2 separate regions of the Homo sapiens genome follow, and region 2 is linked to region 1. Evidence: promoter capture Hi-C in human tissues and cell types (Jung and others, 2019). All regions are on one chromosome and are shown on one strand. Each heading gives the region's core, a stretch centred on a gene start or on the middle of the fragment in contact. The rest is flanking DNA. Distances are from core to core; before and after follow the strand shown. Region 1 holds the start of POLG2 (DNA polymerase gamma 2, accessory subunit). Region 2 has its middle 52 kb from the start of SMURF2.

The links. Contacts are between HindIII fragments. The study calls those that stand out against the background at their distance.
Region 2: a contact is called between a fragment that was not itself captured here and the fragment with the promoter of POLG2 in region 1, in 1 of the 25 tissues and cell types used here (dorsolateral prefrontal cortex).

Annotation. Positions count from the first base shown.
Region 1 is chr17:64,493,356-64,499,942 of GRCh38, reverse strand. POLG2 (DNA polymerase gamma 2, accessory subunit) reads left to right here and starts at 2,889. Exons shown (of 8, transcript NM_007215.4): 1 at 2,889-3,536. The coding sequence starts at 2,975. It overlaps DDX5 (DEAD-box helicase 5), which reads left to right. Exons shown (of 13, transcript NM_004396.5): 13 at 1-1,689. The coding sequence ends at 20. It also overlaps a transcript of MILR1 not described here. RefSeq lists enhancers at 2,612-2,751, 3,132-3,201, 2,853-3,712. The HindIII fragment of the contact is 4,462 bases long and covers 1,629-6,090 here.
Region 2 is chr17:64,710,549-64,717,135 of GRCh38, reverse strand. No RefSeq gene overlaps it. Among named protein-coding and RNA genes, the nearest start is that of SMURF2, 52 kb to the right of the region's middle. RefSeq lists an enhancer at 4,094-4,143. The HindIII fragment of the contact is 7,938 bases long and covers 1-6,559 here.

The DNA of each region.
Region 1 (6,587 bases), core at 1,640-4,139:
CAACAGGATATTCCCAATAAGACTTTAGAAGTATATGTAAATGTCTGTTTTTCATAATTGCTCTTTATATTGTGTGTTATCTGACAAGATAGTTATTTAAGAAACATGGGAATTGCAGAAATGACTGCAGTGCAGCAGTAATTATGGTGCACTTTTTCGCTATTTAAGTTGGATATTTCTCTACATTCCTGAAACAATTTTTAGGTTTTTTTTGTACTAGAAAATGCAGGCAGTGTTTTCACAAAAGTAAATGTACAGTGATTTGAAATACAATAAATGAAGGCAATGCATGGCCTTCCAATAAAAAATATTTGAAGACTGAATTAAGTGGAAATTGTACTTTATTTTATATAATGTCATGTAAAACTTTGCTTAAGATGGTCTGGTTTTTTTTTTGTTTTTGTTTGGTTTTTTTTTTCCATGAAAACAAATGACTGTTCCTTTTTATTTAATTTGGGAGGCAGGGGGAATCAGAAGGCCCTTCTTTATAATGAGCTATTCATATTGCAGGAGTCAGAATGAATTGATACAGGTGAATTTTTAGTTACAGGCTAAATTGCATAAAAGCTTTGTCAGCTTCCAGCATCAGGGGAGTCATTTAATAGCCTTTTTCCTTATTTGCTAGTATGGTTAAATGAGAAAATAGTAAAATAGATACAAAGTCATCTATATAGTGTGAGAACGTGGGTGACTTTTTCAAAGTTTATAATTTAAAAAGCTCCAAATAACTGGCTTTTTCAAGAGACTTATACTCATGCTCTTGGCTATACTGTGAATTACTGAAATGTTGAACAAACCTGTGAAAGACATACATTAGCCCTTTAAGATGGCCAGGAGCTAAGCTTGAGTCTCCTTTACTGAATTTCGTTCTTAGTGCAGGTTACTTGTAGATTCTAGTCTTCACAGGCTCCCTGGGGCTCTTAACTAGTCACACTGGGAGTCATGAATGTCTTTCCAATAATTCAGGGAATTCTAGAGATCCTCAAACTGTAAGGTCTATTCATACTCAACACAAGGAAAAAACCTCATTAAAATTAATGACTAATCAGGAGGCAACGTAACCAAAAGCACAGTGAATGAAAGTTTTCATGGTAGGTTCAACATGGGTTTATTGCTAGAAAGATCCAGGGGATAGCTTTAGGTTTAACTTCGGCTCACCAACGTAACTTTCTAATCATTTATTTCAGTAATAGCTAGAAGTGGGTCTGAATGTTTTCCCAGAGTCTGATACGTGTTTTTTTTTGCCAGAAGAGAGGTCTTCAGGAGACTTCATTTAAATTCTGATTATTAAACTGAGGCTTTAATTGATGTTAATGCCTTATGTCAAATGTAAAGTTAGAATTTGCTAGGGCTGGGATAGGGAGTGATATTTCTAGGACTTAGACATTGAAAACTAATTCAGCCTGTAGTAACCTGGATGGTTTTCAATGGCATGGTTAGTCAAATTCATGGTTTTAAACTTAGAAGCAGCTTTCGGGGGAGAGGGTAGGTTGGAGCATTTATTACATATTTTACTGTTTAATGTCTTAACCGTGGGCCTTTTAATTTGTAAACACTGAAATGATTGTTGGGCTGTGGAAAACATTTACCTATTTACCTTGGAAGTTTTAAAAGACAGTCCACTTTTTAGCATGTGTGTTGTGTCCAGCCTGTGGTCGTCTTAACTAATAAATGTGATTTTTCTCCCCATTCTCTCTTTTTATTTATTTGCGTATAGGCCTTTTACCTGGTGTGAGTTCCTGAATGTGGAAAACACCTGGCAGTAGTACCCAGCTTTGCAGTTAATTACTATCTAGCTGGCCTTTTTTTAAACCCTTGTATACACTTGTAAAGAAGAACTATTTCCTGAACCTGGTACAGCACTTTACTAATGATAAAACTTTACTCCTGAATTACATTAACTCAATTGCTAAGCTGTTACCCCTCTTAATCAGGTAGTAGTTTGGTAGTCTCACAGTGAAATGTAGATTGTTCCTTTTTCCCTGAACCTCTTTAAAGGTTTTCGTAACTGAGGCTGGTATAAGAAATCATGGACTTTGGAATCAAACTTCCTCAGTCTGGGTATACCACTTTTCCACTTTCTGGGTAGGTCTTAAGGTCTCGACCTATTTAAATAGAAACTGCAAAATCAGAAACCTGCAATTTAATCATGAGTCTCTTAATAATAACAGTCACAAGTCTCATTGTTTTGATGAACCCATAGAAGGGGCCCCTGGAAGAAATTGCACGTACGTGGTTTTCTCTGACACCAGGAGGGTTTAAGACATGTCAGGGCCCCTTGGTTTATTTCTAGTGCATTCCCAGGTGAGGCAGATGCTGCTGGCTGGGGACTGCCCTTTGGAAGCCACTGCAATATTTAAAGTGACCATACCACTACCCTAGTCACGAAGCCTATCGCCCCCCTCCCCGGAAGCTTAAGCGTCAAGACAACGGCTCTGGGGTTAGGCCTAGGCCACCTGGCGGCAGCATTTGCCTAGTTAAGAAGGCCTGGGCTTACAAATCACCGTAAAGGACTAAAACTGTTTAAAGGGAAACCAAATGCCAAATTTAGTCCAAGTGCTTGATTGAGGTGTATATAGAAGGTGATTTGGATAATACTGAAGTATTTTAATTTTCTGGACTGCAAAACAGTGGCAGAAGGAAGTGACTCAAGTGGCTACACCACGGTTATAAATAGGTGGGAATAACCTTTACTGGTGCTTACGAGGAAAGAAAAAAGTCAATCTGAAGGGAGGGGCGCGACGCGAACGGCAAGCTAGCAGAGAACCATCCGAGCCGGCGTCCGCCATGGTGGGCGGGGGACGGCTGCGGCCGGAACGCAGACATGCGCTTCCGGGGTGGGGCCTGCCGCCCGCAAGCACGCTCACCTCCGTTGCGCCTGCGCCGTGGCCTCTCCGGATTCTGTTAACGGTAGTGGTGGCTTGTTGGGATCCGTTGAGTGATGGGAGAGTGTGCTCTTTAACTTCGGAGAGAGATGCGCTCTCGTGTAGCCGTCAGGGCCTGCCATAAGGTCTGCAGGTGCCTGTTGTCTGGGTTTGGGGGTCGAGTAGATGCGGGGCAGCCGGAGCTGTTGACGGAAAGGAGTAGCCCCAAAGGAGGGCATGTGAAGTCGCACGCGGAGCTCGAGGGGAACGGCGAGCACCCAGAAGCCCCCGGGTCTGGAGAGGGAAGCGAGGCGCTGTTAGAGATCTGTCAGAGAAGGCATTTCCTAAGTGGAAGCAAGCAGCAGCTTAGCCGGGATTCTCTTCTGAGTGGGTGCCACCCCGGCTTCGGACCCTTGGGCGTAGAGTTGCGGAAGAACCTGGCCGCAGAATGGTGGACCTCGGTGGTGGTGTTCAGGGAGCAGGTATTCCCGGTGGACGCCCTCCACCACAAACCAGGCCCTTTGCTACCCGGGGACAGTGCCTTCAGGTTAGTTTCTGCAGAAACTCTACGCGAAATCTTGCAAGACAAAGAGCTGAGTAAGGAACAGCTAGTAGCATTTCTTGAGAACGTATTAAAAACTTCTGGGAAACTACGGGAGAACCTTCTTCACGGTATGCTTCACGATTTCATGCTTCAAAACAGGTGTCGGGTGGAAAGGCGAGGCAGTCTTGCTGGATCTTGGGGATTGCAACTGGCCCTGTATTCCCATGCAAGGAAGTTAGTTAGTTCTCATCTTTTTGAAGTAGTCGGATATATTAACAGTGCTCTACCCTGGAGAAAACTGGTCCATGGAATCATTGCTGTTCCTTAAACAATCTGTCCGAAGGACCTGGGAACGCTCTCAATTTCACGGGGCAACTTCTGAACACAGTGCTGTCATTTAGTGCAATGTAGTCTAAGTGCATAAGGAACTACACAGACATTTTGAACTTTTCTTAGATTTATTCTAAGTAAAAATGTTGAAATTATAATTCTGAAACTATTTCATGTATATCATAGGATAAATCAAGGCCAGGCGCAGTGGCTCACGCCTGTAATCCCAGCATTTTGCAAGGCAGAGGCGGGTGGATCACCTGAGGTCAGGAGTTCGAGACTAGCCTGGCCAACATGGTGAAACCCCGTCTCTACTAAAAAGACAAAAATTAGCCGGCCGTGACGGCGAGCGCCTGTAATCCCAGCTACTTGGGAGGCTGAGGCAGGAGAATCGCTTGAACCCAGGAGGCAGAGGTTGCAGTGAGCCGAGATCACGCCACTGCACTCCAGCTTGGGTGACAAGAGCAAAACTCCGTCTTAAAAAAAAAAAATTCAAATAGTTGGGTTAGTTGTTATTAGGAACCAAGATATTCATTGTAAAAGAAGAGATAATATGTAAAAGAAGGTACGTATAAACTAATGTTAAATATGGATTGGTAAATTAAATATGAATTGGTAAATTAAAATTGAATATGGGTCTCACTCTGTCACCCAGACTCGAGTGCAGTGGTGTGATCATGGCTCACTGCAGCCTCGACCTCGGGCTCAAGTGAACCTCCCACCTCAGCCTCCCAAGTAGCTGGACTACAGGCACATGCCACCACACCCAGCTAATTTTTGTGTTTTTTGTAGAGATGAGGTTTTGCCATGTTGTCCAGGCTGGTCTTGAACTCCTGAGCTTAAGCAATCCGCCCATCTTGGCCCCCCAAAGTGCTGGGATTACAGGTGTGAGCCACAGTGCCCAGCCTCATGATTTTTAAAAATATATTTCCTAACTTTCTTCGTTTAAAGTTCCTAGAAGCAATGACCCTCAGTAGCAATGAGCACACCTAGTGCCCAGATCCTGGTTCCTTTTTTTTTTTTTTTTGAGACAGAGTCTCGCTCTGCCGCCCAGGCTGGAGTGCAGTGGCACAATCTCGGCTCACTGCAAGCTCCATCTCCCAGGTTCACGCCATTCTCCTGCCTCAGCCTCCCGAGTAGCTGGGACTAGACTACAGGCACTTGCCACCACGCCTGGCTAATTTTTTGTATTTTTAGTAGAGACGGGGTTTCACCTTGTTAGCCAGGATGGTCTCTATCTCCTGACCTTGTGATCCGCCCGCCTCGGCCTCCCAAAGTGCTGGGATTACAGGCGTGAGCCACTGCGCCCGGCCTCCAGATCTTGGTTTCTAAGATGAACCAGTACTGGGAGAAATGGCTGATTCCGGGTCTGGGGTTAGGGAAAGTACAAGGTGAGTTTGAAACACTTTATGGTGCTAAAAAGCAAAGAATTGCTTGAAGACTAATGGGTCATATAAAAAGGTCACAGATGCTGGCTTGAGGAGGGTTGTCACTGGCCACATCTAGGACAAATTGAACATTAAGATACATATTAATGGTAATGGATCATAACACATTGACTAAAATCTAAGAGTCAATAGTATTAATCAAAAACAAATAATTGACCCTAGAGGTCGGGGGCGGGGGGAAGAGGTAGAGAAAGCTTATGTTTTTACAGAAGCTATGGAATAAATGTAGAAGGAAAGATACATTAGAAAATTCACCATTTCATGATATTGCAAACCCCGATATCATTGATTCAAGCAACAGTCATCAATGGATTCTAAAATACTGGGTGAAATACTGTTGGGGAGCAGGATATTATTGGGGAGTGGATATTTACTACCTTAACCAAGTAATCAAATTTGGTGTCTTCAGTAGTGGAATAATTTGATAACATGTTCCTCATGTTATGATGCAATAAGATACACACATCTACTATGTAGTATTTTGCTAAAAATGATTAGCCGAAATTAAATCATAAGGAAACAATCAGACAAATCCCAAATGTGAGACAATCTATGACTAACCTGGACTCACATCAAAAGTCAGTGTCATTAATAGCAAAATTAAGGGGGAAAGGAGGCAAGGGAAATGTTCTAGATTCAAATGGATGAAAGAAACCTACTCAGAATGCAGTACATGAATCTTAACTGGAAAGAGAACAGTAAAAGATATTTGGGGTGAAAATTGGAACAACTAAAATATCACCATATGTTAGATTATATTGTGGTATTATGGTTAACTTTTTATGGTGTTATAATGGTATATAGGAAATATTTTTATTTTTAGAAGATGTATGCGGCAGTATTTGGGAGTGAACAAGAAAAAAATGTGGCAAAATGTTGATAATTGATGAATCTAGGTAAAGGGTATACAAGTGTTCATTGTATATGGATGTTTATTATTTTTTCAACTTTCTTATAGATTTGAAAATCTTTGTCGGGCGCGGTGGCTCACGCCTGTAATCCCAGCACTTTGGGAGGCCAAGGCAGGCAGATCATGAGGTCAGGAGATCGAGACCAACCTGGCTAACACGGTGAAACCCCGTCTCTACTAAAAATACAGAAAAAATTAGCCGGGCGTGGTGGCGGGCGCCTGTAGTCCCAGCTACTCGGGAGGCTGAGGCAGGAGAATGGCATGAACCCGGGAGGCGGAGGTTGCAATGAGCCGAGACCCTGCCACTGCACTCCAGCCTGGGCGACAGAGCGAGACTCCATCTCAAAAAAAAAAGAAAATCTTCAAACTAAAAACTCAGGGTGAAACTACCTAGAATTAAGTGGTGATCTGTCTTTTTTTGTTTTTTTTTAAGACAGGGTTTCACTCTGTTGCCCAGGCTGGAGCACAGTGGCACCATCCCAGCTCACTGC
Region 2 (6,587 bases), core at 1,341-3,840, 220 kb before region 1:
TTTAACAAAGCACATCTTGCACCGCCCTTAATCCATTTAACCCTGAGTGGACACAGCACATGTTTCAGAGAGCACAGGGTTGTGGGTAAGGTCACCGATCAACAGGATCCCAAGGCAGAAGAATTTATCTTAGTACAGAACAAAATGAAAAGTCTCCCATGTCTACTTCTTTCTACACAGACACGGCAACCATCCGATTTCCCAATCTTTTCCCCACCTTTCCCCCCTTTCTATTCCACAAAACCGCCATTGTCATCCCGGCCCGTTCTCAATGAGCTGTTGGGTACACCTCCCAGACGGGGTGGTGGCCGGGCAGAGGGGCTCCTCACTTCCCAGTAGGGGCGGCCGGGCAGAGGGGCTCCTCACTTCCCAGACGGGGTGGCTGCCGGGCAGAGGGGCTCCTCACTTCTCAGATGGGGCGGCTGCCGGGCGGAGGGGCTCCTCACTTCTCAGACGGGGCGGATGCTGGGCAGAGGGTCTCCTCACTTCTCAGACGGGGCGGCTGGGCAGAGACGCTCCTCACCTCCCAGATGGGGTCGCGGCTGGGCAGAGGCGCTCCTCACATCCCAGACGGGGCGGCGGGGCAGAGGCGCTCCCCACATCTCAGACGATGGGCAGCCGGGAAGAGGCGCTCCTCACTTCCTAGATGGGATGGCGGCCGGGCAGAGACGCTCCTCACTTTCCAGACGGGGTGGCGGCCGGGCAGAGGCTGCAATCTCGGCACTTTGGGAGGCCAAGGCAGGCGGCTGGGAGATGGAGGTTGTAGCGAGCTGAGATCACGCCACTGCACTCCAGCCTGGGCACCATTGAGCACTGAGTGAACCAGACTCCGTCTGCAATCCCGGCACCTCGGGAGGCCGAGGCTGGCGGATCACTCGCGGTTAGGAGCTGGAGACCAGCCCGGCCAACACAGCGAAACCCCGTCTCCACCAAAAAAGTACGAAAACCAGTCAGGCGTGGTGGCGCGCGCCTGCAATGGCAGGCACTCGGCAGGCTGAGGCAGGAGAATCAGGCAGGGAGGTTGCAGTGAGCCGAGATGGCAGCAGTACAGTCCAGCTTCGGCTCGGCATCAGAGGGAGACCGTGGAAAGAGAGGGAGAGGGAGACCGAGAGGGAGAGGGGAGAGGGGAGAGGGGAGAGGGGAGAGGGAGAGGGAGAGGGAGAGCCCAGCTAATTTTCATATTTTTAGTAGAGACGGGGTTTCACCTTCTTGGCCAGGCTGGTCTCAAACTCCTGACCTCCTGATGCACCTGCGTCAGCCTCCCAAAGTGCTGGGATTACAGGCGTGAGCCACCACGCCCGGCATCTAGATGTACACTTTCTAGTTTTGAAGGAGACAATTCCAAATGTTAGCAGCTTTTAAAAGACATAACTGCAACCTGTAGGCCAACACTTGAAGCCAACAGGGTGTTGTCTCCAGGCTAACCCTGTAAATGAACTTTCAGCAGCCATTTCACCGCCCTCTAACCCAGCTGCTTCTGGGTGGTGGAACTTTAACTTTACGTCTCTATTAAGTCAAGTCTGAGTTAGCCATTGTAGACTATTCATGCCAACTCCAAAGCCCAAACCTGGGTGAGTGTATCAGTGAATTCAGCCCAATCAAGCCTTTTATTTATTTATTTATTTTTATTTATTTATTTATTTTTTGACACAGATTCTCACTTTTTCACCCAGGCTGGAGTGCAATGGCACGATCTCGGCTCACTGCAACCTCTGCCTCCTGGGTTCAAGCGATTCTCCTGCCTCAGCTTCCCGAGTAGCTGAGACTACAGGCATGCACCCACCACCACGCCCAGCTAATTTTTTGTATTTTTAGTAGAAACAGGTTTCACCATGTTGGCCAGGCTGGTCTCAAACTCCTGAGTTTGAGGAGTTTGAAGAGTGATCCGCCCGCCTCAGCCTCCCAAAGTGCTGGAATTACAGGCACGAGGCTCTGTGCCCAGCCAAGCCTTGTGTTTACCATCTTTAGGCTAACACAATGCTTAGAATCCTCTCCGACACGTGCTCCCAAGACCCTTGTGGATTTGAACTGGCAAGGTCCTGCCACTTCTTTAGTGTATAGACATTCTCTTTCTAGAGCAGGCCTTGTACTGCCCAAGTGGGCTATGTTGGGATCTAACTCTCCTTTTGATGCTGGAGGAATGAAGAGAAGATCTGGTGTCCCTTTTTAGTGAAGCAACTGTCCTAGGTGCAGTCACAGAAGGTTCCTTAGGCAGGGATAAGTTGGTTACCTCTACACGGGAGGACCTGCCTGAACAGACAAGGGAGCTTTGAAGGATTTGAGAATTCAAAAGTGCCAGAGTCTCAGCCTTGTCTGTGACCACTTAGATGCTCCTATTCTAAGTCTCAGGGTCCCACTACGTCCCCACTATGCCCTTTCCTAAGCATTTACTTGGAACTCCTACATGCACAATGAGGCCCTGGGCTGAGTCTTCCATCATATCCACCCTGAAAGTATAGGAGATGAAGGCTCCTTCGAAGATGCCACCAGACCTTTCTTGCTGTCTATTGCATTCTCTGTTCAAGATTCACAGCATTTTTTTTTTTTTTTTGAGATGGATGGAGTTTCGCTCTTGTTGCCCAGGCTGGAGTACAATGGTGTGATCTCGGCTCACCACAACCTTGGCTCACCGCAACCTCTGCCTCCTGGGTTCAAGCGTTTCTCCTGCCTTGGCCTCCCGGGTAGCTGGGATTACAGGCATGCACCACAATGCCCAGCTAATTTTGTATTTTTAGTAGAGTTGTGTTTCTCCATGTTGGTCAGGCTGATCTCGAACTCCTGACCTCAGGTGTACCCTTAAAGGAAATGCATGCCTTCCCCTCCTTTTTATTGCATCTGTAGGCTGCAATGTGGCCACAGTGGGGGGAGCTGTATTGAACTACACAAGCAACAAAATAGAGTCTGAATCCCCAGCAACTAAGAACTGCTAACAGAGAGACAGGAACAGTTTGGGTGTGACACTGGAGTCAGGCAGCCTTGGGTTCAAACACTGATTCTGCTAATCCCTAGCTGTGGACCTCGGGTGAAGAATTTAACCTCACGGTCTTCAGTTTCCTTAGCTGTAAAATGCTGGGAGGATGCAAGGAGCTGTCATAACGAAATTGCCTAGCAGTGTTCATGGTCCAGAGCAGGGTTTTAACGAACAGAAGCTGGCATGTCACCACTCTCTGTCCCTAGGAGCCTTGCCTTTTGCCTCCCTTTTCTGCCTTGATCCGCGCCCCCACCCATCTCTCCTCCCGTTCTTTCTTCACTTTCACTTTCTGGTCTGCCTCTTCCTTAAGCTGGACTCTGTGACTGTAGGTGTGTTTAATGTTTGGCTGCCTTCAGGAGGCCAGCAAGGCTCCCTGGCCAACATTTTACTTTTTTTTTTTTTTTTTTGAGACGGAGTCTCACTCACTCTGTCGCCCAGGCTGGAGTACAGTGGCGCGATCTCGGCTCACTGCAACCTCCGCTTCCCGGGTTCAAGTGCTTCTCCTGCCTCAGCCTCCCAAGTAGCTGAGACTACAGGTGCTCACCACCACGCCCGGCTAATTTTTGTATTTTTAGTAGAGAAGGGGTTTCACCATGTTGGCCAGGCTGGTCTTGAACTCCTGGCCTCAAGTGATCTGCCCACCTTGGCCTCCCAAAGTGCTGGGAATACAGGCAGGAGCCACCGTGCCCGGCCATGGTTCCCTGGCCAACCTTTTACTTATTCCTCTCCCTTCTACAATGATGCTTCTCCACCACATCAAAAGGTCCTCTCCTTTCCTCTTCCACAGCCATTGGCTGCAGGGAAATCGCCAGGGACAGAGCTGCAACTTGCCAGGCCAGCCCTGGAGGCAGCCCTGGAACCCTCTTGCTCCCTCGACCTTCTCCCTCCCCTTTCCCGGGAGGCCCAGGAAAGGGAGCTGGCACCCTGGGCCACTGAGCCAGTGGCAAGGCTCAGCCAGCAGGAGGAGAGCAGCGGATCAGGACTGCCTCAGACCTTTGATAAACCAGGTCTTGGAAGAAGGCCACTTACTCTTCTTTGTGTTTCTCTGTGTGCTGATTCCTGAGATTTGCAGGACATGTTTAATATTTGCTTGGAGAATCTATGAAAAGAAAAAGAAAAACAGAGAGGGAAGGAAACAGGAACCAAAATGCCACTTATCCCATGAGGGCACTGAGGCCTGGGCTCTGAGTCTCTCTGTTGCTGGCGGGGGCCAGGCTTCCTGTGGTGGGAGCGGCAGGCCTCCCTTCTCAGGCGTGGGTTCCACCACGGCTTGAAAGCCCCAGACCACCTCGCCCCTCCCTGGGAACTCAGCCTCTTGTGCAGCCACATAAAGGTAACCAGTGTCTGGTGGCTTGATAGGACAGACTTGTGAGGGACTTCCTGCCTTTTGATGCATGCCATTCCTGAGAGCTGGGCCGGGCCTCTGAAGAGGAGAGGTCCCTTTCAACTTCCTGAGTGTCTCAACGTTCAGACTCTTGGGGTTTGTGGTTAGAGACACTGGTATGAAGATTGTGTTCTATAAAGTATGCCCTCCGGGTCCCATAAAGCTAACAAGGCAAAGCTTTGTGAAAACACCCCCTAACCAAATGGACCAAGAGGGTCTGAAAAGCCCTTGACCTTGGAGCATTTTTTTTTTAATTTTTTGAGACAGGGTCTCGCCCTGTCGCCCAGGCTGGAGTGCAGTGGCATGATCTCAGTTCACTGCAACCTCTGCCTCCTGGGTTCAAGTGATTCTCGTGCTTCAGCCTCCGGAGTAGCTGGGATTATAGGCACACGCCACCATGCCTGGCTAATTTTTGTATTTTTGTAATTTTTTTTTTGTAGAGACGGGGCTTCACCATGTTGGCCAGGCTGGTTTTGAACTCCTGACCTCAAGCAATCCACCCACCTCGGCCTCCCAAAGTGCTGGGATTATAGGCATGAGCCATCATGCCCTGGCCCCTTGCAGCCTTTAGTGAAGAATGAGTGAAGGACTGGAAGGTCCGGGCAGTATGAGGGGATCTGCCCGAGGGAAAGTGTGTTAACAGCAGGACCCTTCTGCGAAGCCACCCGACTCCACTCCAGTACCTCGGAGCTGCCTTCAAATGTAACATGATTCCTCCAGCACTCACGGTTGCTAAGGGCCAGATAGACATTCTTTTCGTTTTTTAATTTAAATTTTTTTTTTTTTGAGACAGAGTCTCACTCTGTCACCTAGGCTGCAGTACAATGGCACCATCATGGCTCACTGTAGCCTCAACCTCCCAGGCTCAAGTGATCCTCCCACCTCAGCCTCCCAAATAGGTGAGATTACAGGTGTGCATCACCACACCCAGCTAATTTTTTAACTTTCTGTAGAGACGGAGGTCTCTCTTTGTTGCCCAGGCTGGTCTTGAACTCCTGGGCTCAAGTGATTCTCCTGCCTTGATCTCCCAAAGTACTGGGATCACAGGTATGAACCACTGCACCTGGCCTCATCCCTGCATTCTAATCCTCTTCTCACAGATGGGGAAACTGAGGCTCAATGAGGTTGAGTGACTGCTCCAAGAGCACACAGAGGTAGGATTGGAGCTCAGAGCTGGCTGACTCCAGATCCAAGATCTTTATGCTTCACCAGACTGCTCCCCACAAGACTATAGGGTGTCAGCAAAGTTGAGAAACACAGGACATACACGCTCACTCTCTCCGCTATTAATTACCTGGCTGAAGTAGTGTTTGTCAGTTTCTCCACTGTAAAGTTACTCTTTTCTTCCCGTTTTCCATACCATCCTCTTTGGTCATTCACCATGTACAACCCACGTTTAAGGAGTGGGAGTTATGAGGTGGAGTATCTACAGGAATTATCTGGAACACTACATGGGAGATTTGTCTTTTGTCTCTATTACTTATTTATTTACTTTTTTTTTAAGTGTATGCTACTGACATTTTCAAATAATATGCTCATTATGTTTTCAGGCAAAGTATCTTTTTTTTGTTTTTTGAGATGGAGTTTCACTGTCTCCCAGGTTGGAGTGCAGTGGTGCAATCTCGGCTCACCGCAACCTCTGCCTCCCAGGTTCAAGCGATTCTCCTGCCTCAGCCTCCCGAGTAGCTGGGATTACAGGCACCCATCACCATGCCTGGCTAATTGTTGTGTTTTTAGTAAAGATGGGGGTTTCACCATGTTGGTCAGGCTGGTCTTGAACTCCTGACCTCAGGTGATCTGCCCGCCTCAGCCTCAAAGTGCTGGGATTACAGGCATGAGCCATGGTGCTCAGTGGGCAAAGTACCTTTACATTGAGGTTTTTGTTTTGTTTTGTTTTAGTTTTGAGACAGAGTTTCACTCTTGTTGCCCAGGCTGGAGTGCAATGGCACAATCCTGGCTCACTGCAACCTCTGTCTCCTGGGTTCAAGCAATTCTCCTGTCTCAGCCTCCTGAGTAGCTGTGATTACAGGCATGAGCCACCACACCCAGCTAATTTTGTATTTTTAGTAGAGACGGGGTTTCACCATGTTGGCCAGGCTGGTCTTGAACTCCTGACCTCAGTTGATCCACCTGCCTTGGCCTCCCAAAGTGCTGAGATTACAGGTGTGAGCCACCTTGCCCAGCCTTGTATTTTTTTTTTAGATGGAGTTTTGCTCTGTCGCCCAGGCTAGA